Linked DNA regions of Homo sapiens: region 1 is linked to region 2. Evidence: promoter capture Hi-C in human tissues and cell types (Jung and others, 2019). All regions are on one chromosome and are shown on one strand. Each heading gives the region's core, a stretch centred on a gene start or on the middle of the fragment in contact. The rest is flanking DNA. Distances are from core to core; before and after follow the strand shown.

What was found. Contacts are between HindIII fragments. The study calls those that stand out against the background at their distance.
Region 1: a fragment that was not itself captured here is called in contact with the fragment with the promoter of ATP10B in region 2 in 1 of the 25 tissues and cell types used here (dorsolateral prefrontal cortex).

The regions. Positions count from the first base shown.
Region 1 is chr5:160,802,596-160,805,943 of GRCh38, reverse strand. All of the region lies in intron 1 of ATP10B (ATPase phospholipid transporting 10B (putative)), which reads left to right. Among named protein-coding and RNA genes, the nearest start is that of ATP10B, 48 kb to the left of the region's middle. The HindIII fragment of the contact is 5,635 bases long and covers 1-3,348 here.
Region 2 is chr5:160,850,832-160,853,959 of GRCh38, reverse strand. ATP10B (ATPase phospholipid transporting 10B (putative)) reads left to right here and starts at 1,749. Exons shown (of 26, transcript NM_025153.3): 1 at 1,749-2,019. The HindIII fragment of the contact is 6,864 bases long and covers 1-3,128 here.

The sequences.
Region 1 (3,348 bases), core at 846-3,345, 48 kb after region 2:
GGAACCACTGGCTTTCCCCCATCTCCAGCTTGCAGATGACAGATTGCAGGACCTCTTGGCCTCCATCATTGTGTGAGCCGATTCCTTATAGTAAATATAAATATGCACACACATACATATCTTCTTGGTTCTGTTTCTCTGGAGAACCCTGACTAATACCCTCTCCACCCTAAATCTGGAGCCGGCTGCTCACACACATAAACAGCAGTCAAACACAGACAAGATAACAAGAGCCTCTGGGGCACTAGGGGCCACTGCCCACACCGTGTAAATGCTCTTAAGTGCCTCACATTTCACTGTACCTGGGGCCCTGGCAGGCAGGCGGCGAGACAGGTTTCTGGCTCTGGAGAATGTGGGTTAGTCTTGGTGGCCCTTCCAGGTGAGCGTGACCCAGTTAGTGTAGTAACCCAGAAATGTCCACATGCGTGTGCCAAACCTGAAATTAACAGCATTCTGGGCAGCTCTGGTTCAATTTCTAAAATGAGCAGACAGCTTAAAACCTCAGTGATGATCTAAATAGCTTCTTTAAGACACACTTAATTCAGATTTAACAAGACAATTAAATTTAACAAGATGTTGTTAAATACAAGTGATTGTTTAATGTGGATACGCTGAGGAGCTGCCATGCAGGAGACACACATTATTATTAATTACTGCTAAATTATTTTTGTCATCAGCACATAAATTTCAACATTTCTTATCAGATTAGTATACTTCATGTGCAGAATCCTAAAAATGATACATAAACAATGATATATAGTCTTTAAAGCTCTTCTTTCTCCAACAAGGAGAATAAAAGCAAACACATGTAATATATAGACACATACAATGTGCCAAGCACTATTCTAAACACGTCACAAATTTAGTTGACCCTTGAATAGCACAGGTTTGAGCTGCACGGGTCCATGTATGCACAGCTTTTTTTTGGCCAAATACAAATTGAAAATACAATATTTGAGGGAACCCATGTATCTGGAAGGCCATTTTTTGGTACACATAATTCTGCAATACTGACAGCAGGACTTTGGTATGAATGGATTTTGGTGGTGGGGGGTTACTGAAACCAATCTCTTGCATATATGCAGGGACAGCTGTAATCCAACTAGCCTTCACAATAACATCATGAGGTGCTACTGTTTTTTATTTCTATTTTATTTATAAGGAAAAGTGAGTCATAAGATGCACACATATCCCAAGGTCCAACAGTTGTGAAGTAATGGAACCAAGATTTGAACTCAAAATGACTGAATCTGGAGCTCACAGTCCCCACTGTGATCATACTCTCTGCAAGATGATTGCAAATTTGCAAATGTGTAGTTTTCAAACTCCAGTCTAGTTTGATACTAAAGGGACATGGGTCTTTGGATCTATATGAACCTGGGTTAGAATCCTAATTTACCAGCTATATGACTATGGGCTCATAAGCCTGTTTTCCCCCTCTGGAAAATGTCAGTACTCATCCATTCTCACATGTAAGATAATGCACGTGAAGATCCTAGCACAGGAGCTGACACATAGTATGAACTCAAGTTCATTTATTAGATATTTATAGAACACTCTCTATATTCCACCCCAGAAGTAGACACTGAGGAACAAATGATGAACAAAACAGTACAACATAGTTCATCTATTTATCACATACACACATATGAGTATACAATTGAGACCAGACAACTGCTGAGAAGGAGAAGTGCATACTACAATAAGACTGCAAAAAGGGGACTTTGACAAAGATGAAAAATGTTTCCTAAGGAAGTGATGACTACACAACACACAACCCTCATCCCTTATAGAAGTAGCTATTTGGCCAAATAGATCTGCTTATCTCTATGTATGGGTGCAAGGGTAGGACATTTGACTTAGTTTTGTTTTTGTTTTGTATTTTTGCACTGAATCTGCTCTGGAACACAGGAGGACATCAGGGCACAGTAACTCCAGTTCCAGTCAGGAACTGGAGTCAGAAATTTGATTTCTGCCTCCCCATGAATCCTACAGGGGCAACGTTGAAAAAAAAAATCTGTGTTGACCTCCTCTAGCATAGTCTCTGACATCTAAGAGGCACTCAATAAATACCAGTTAAATAAATAACAAATATAAATCATGGGGAAAAGATTCTGAGATTGCATAGCACCTCACATTATCCAGAGCTCTTTCTCAGTATTAATTAAGGAGAGTTTAGTGGTAGGACCACCAGGTTTAAATTATTCTACCAAGTACAAGCTATGTGACCTTGAACAAGTAACCTCTTTTTATTTATTTTATTTTTTTGAGATGGAGTCTTGCTCTGTCACCCAGGCTGGAGTACAGTGGTATGATCTTGGCTCACTGCAACCTCCACCTCCGGGGTTCCAATGATTCTCCTGCCTCAGGCTCCCAAGAAGCTGGGATTACAGGCATGCACCACCACGCCCGGCTAATTTTTGTATTTTTAGTAGGGACGGGGTTTCACCATGTTGGCCAAGCTGGTCTTGAACTCCTGACCTTGTGATCTGCCCTCCTCAGCCTCCCAAAGTGCTGGGATTACAGGTGTGAGCCGCCGTGCCTGGCCCAAGTAGCCTCTTCCTATGCCTCAGTTGATGCCTCTAAAAAGTAGGTTACAATGAAGCTTAAATCAAATAATGTGTAAAGCATTTAGCACAGTTCCTGGTACGTGATAATCTTCATGGCAATGTTAACTGGGGTAGTGGTCAACAGCAGTGATAGTGTGGTTTCTTAATCCATATAGCACAACCTAAACAGTTGATGACAACATCCTCCTTCAACAAAAAGGAAAAAAACTGAGGTTTAGAGATCTAAAGTTATATAGCTAGTCAAGCCCAGGTCAGCTGGTTCCAAGCCCACCATGCCAAGTGAGCCAACAGAAGCCTTTTGAACAGGAGCATGTCACGGAGAAAGCCCATGATAGCAAAAGTCTGCCCAGGGAGCATGTGCAGGAGAGTGAGTTCAGCTGGAAGTAACTCCTTCCTTCTGAGCAAGCAGCTGACAACCTTATGTTGTCCCCCAATTATCTCCCCTCCTGCCTTTTTCTGGAATGGGGATGGGGGATGAAGAATCGTGAAACTGAAGAGAAACCTCCCACTTGAGCTCAGCAAGAGAAAGATGAGAAGAAGCCAGACAAAAGCATCCCCACACACACTCTGATACTTTGAATCCTGACACAGCAGCGGTTGCAAGTCTGAAACCAAGCTGCCCCCTAATGTACAGTCTCCACATTCAGGAGGCTGAAGCCATTAGCAACTAACTTTAGGCTGGAAGAAATGGAAAAGAACTCAAGTGCCTTAAGCAGTAGGTATCAGGCTCTCCATGTGAACTTAGCAGTGTCCCTTACCATGCATTTTGAACTTGTCT
Region 2 (3,128 bases), core at 500-2,999:
TACATACAAAAATGCTAAATTGCCTTAGTGTAGAAAGATTGCCTGCTGGAAATAGGAACTATAAGTAAAACTCTGTGAGTGTGATTTTTAAAATATGATTTATTACAAAATTCCAGCAGCCAAACAAAAGAAAGATAGTCCCTCTAATAAAAACTGAACATAGCATTTCTTATCTATTATTTGTTTATTAGGGTTCTAATTAGCCAGACAGTGTCACTTAATTTCAACACATTTTATAAATAATTTGCCATATGTCTGTTAGTATTTACGATTTCCAGGCAGTTTGGAAAATGAACATATTTGAGGACTCTCTATTCATTGGTTAGCATGAAAACCCAAGGGATGCTACAGACACATTTGTTCCTAAATTGCATGTGCCTCTCTCTTTACCAGGAAAGTGATAATGGGAAAGAGCTGGTCTTAGGAGAAAGACCAGTGATGGAAAATATACTAGTCTTAGGAGAAAGACAATGTGGTTTGAGGTCCCATGTTCACCACCAAATTCCTGTTTGGCTTTGAGCAATTGTATTCACTTCTCTGAGCTTCAGCATTCTCCTCCATGGCACAAGGGGGCTTCACTAAATAACCTCCAGTTACCCACTAGTGCAATATTCTGCAATTTAACCGTATCTGTGATTCTAGACCACACTCGTCCCTAGAAGCCAGAGCACTCTGAGTGAAGGGAAGTAAAGGAACAGGGACTTAAGCATTCTTCTCTTTAGCAGATGGAGAATTTTGAAATGCCAACTCGCTCTTTTAAAAATTCTAGACTGTCTAAAGCATAGGCAAATTTCATGTTCTTAAAAATTCCTAGCTTGTGTCTTACACACACAGCGATGCAGATTTTAGATGGTGTGGGTGTTTCTTCTCTTGTAAAATGTTTCCTATGTCCATGTTTCTTCTTGGTATTCTGATAAGATCTGTAGGTACATACAAAGTTCACAATTACTCTACCAACCAACCAAAATCTTATGTAAAGATTTTCATGAAGTTAGTATGTTCACTTCTTTCCAACACCTTTTATTCCTAAGTTTGGTAATATTTCTTTTTTTTACTACCCTTAAAATCAACTTACTGCTCATTCTACCTTCTCTTTTATTTATGGACCCATCAATAATTATCCATCAATACAGCAACTTGCTCATGACATTTATGCCAATTAGTTGAGTTGTAGGTAACTTAATAAAAGGATTATACATGAAAATCTCATTTTAGGGTATGAATCGAAGCTATCAATAAGCCCATTACTAATTCTGATTTTCTGTAAGTTTGCACCATTCACATAATCTGCCACTATAATATATTGGTCCCACTTTCCTTATTTTGTATAATCAAACAGTAATCAATAAAAACTATGACTACTGCAAAATGAGACTTCTGAAGCTTTGAGGGCAAATTCATCATCAGCATGCATATAAAAGTCACTGTAGAGAGTCTTTTCTTTCTTAAGTGCCCTTGAAACCCAGCAGCTGAATCATATTTCAGGCCCCCCAAAGAGAACTGCAAGGTTATAATTGTCTCACACTTAATTACATGCATTACCAAAGGTAGATGGACAAAGTCATTTTGTACCATGCGTAGAGAATAAAAATCACCATGAATTTTGATATTGCTGGCTCATTGATTCACAGGAAGTAGAAATTTATGCAAGAACCATGTCTAACAATGTAAATGTTCAGCCAAGTCGAAGAACACTGCCTTCACTGTTCTGGGACTCGGCCTCACATTCACAGACTTGCTATTCTTCTCTTTCACTCTTGGGCCTAGCGAGGCAGCTTATTTTTCCTTTTTCTTTCATTGGTCACAGTTATTTCTTTTCAGTGTGTCATCTTCTCTAAGTTTCTGAGGGAGTGTTAGCTTGAGGCCTTGCCTTGACATAATCAGATATAATCAGAAAAATGAAAAATTCCATAGGAAAGAGAACTATTTTAGCCAAGGTGTGCGAGAGAAATACCGCCACTTTCAAGCACTGTTTTCTTCTACTGGAGTCTGCTCAATAGGGACGTCAGCTTTGCTGGGGTAAGTAAAAGCATCCTGGCCTTAACCTATATAATGGGGGAGTAATTGCCTCTTAGAATCATCAAGTCTAAGTTCTGAATTAGGCCCAGGATATGACTACTTTTCTTTACACTGCATTTGAAATTTCATTTGGCTTTCTGGGTGCGAGATCCACATTTCTTTTCTAACAGAATGTTTTATTTTTCGTCAATTGATTTCATTATGATAAGCTGATGGCAAATGCTACTTCCTCACTCAACAGGGCTTGCAGTCTGAATGTGCCTGAATACATTTTATGATAAATAATATATCCTGCTATCCTGCATTCATCCAGTGCAGCCTGAGGAAGCAGATGGAGTTACAGCCTTCTTCTCAAAGCAGAAAGAAACTATAGCTTTGAGGAAGAGAATGAGATCATTACATGGCTTCCCAATTTCATCTTGATAAACTCTGAAGCTGCCATATTGCAGTAGTTTTCAACTATAGGTGGGAAGCTTGACTTTCCTTTGAGTTCAAAGGAGAAAACTGTTGCTTAAAGAAAAATGTGTTTTTTCCCTAAGTATGAGTTACTCCTTCCAGAAAAAAAATAAAAAAGCCCCATGCATGCAGGTCTGTGATGAATACATTTAGGACAGTCCTGTGGCCTGCTATTAAGGCTGGAGTGACACTATCCCTAACCCTAAGGTGAAAAGTAATGTTAAAAATAAAAATTATACTGAGCTGCTAGTTATTTTGCCTACAGGAGTGCATGCCTGTGTCTGGTGGAACTTGGTTTTTCTCTGAATTTGCCAGGCAATTTTCTCTGAATTTGCCAGGTAGGCAGAGGAGAATTTGAAAACTGTAGAGAGGAGCTTGACCTCCCAAAGCCAATCTGGCACTCTGCTACTTCCTTCTTCCACAGTTTCTTCTCTGTTTCCAGATCTTGCAAATGTACAGTCAAGACTGCTTGGAGTATTATTCCATTAACAGACATACAGTTACATTAAGCCATTAATCAGGCAGATCACAGATGTTGTTTTCTGTCTAGATGTTACTATAATTACTCTTAATAACACCCACTGAGTTTGTCATTTCATCCATTGATGACTTTTTAAAAAATTCTTGGAAAATTCATTTCTTACAGCCTAATT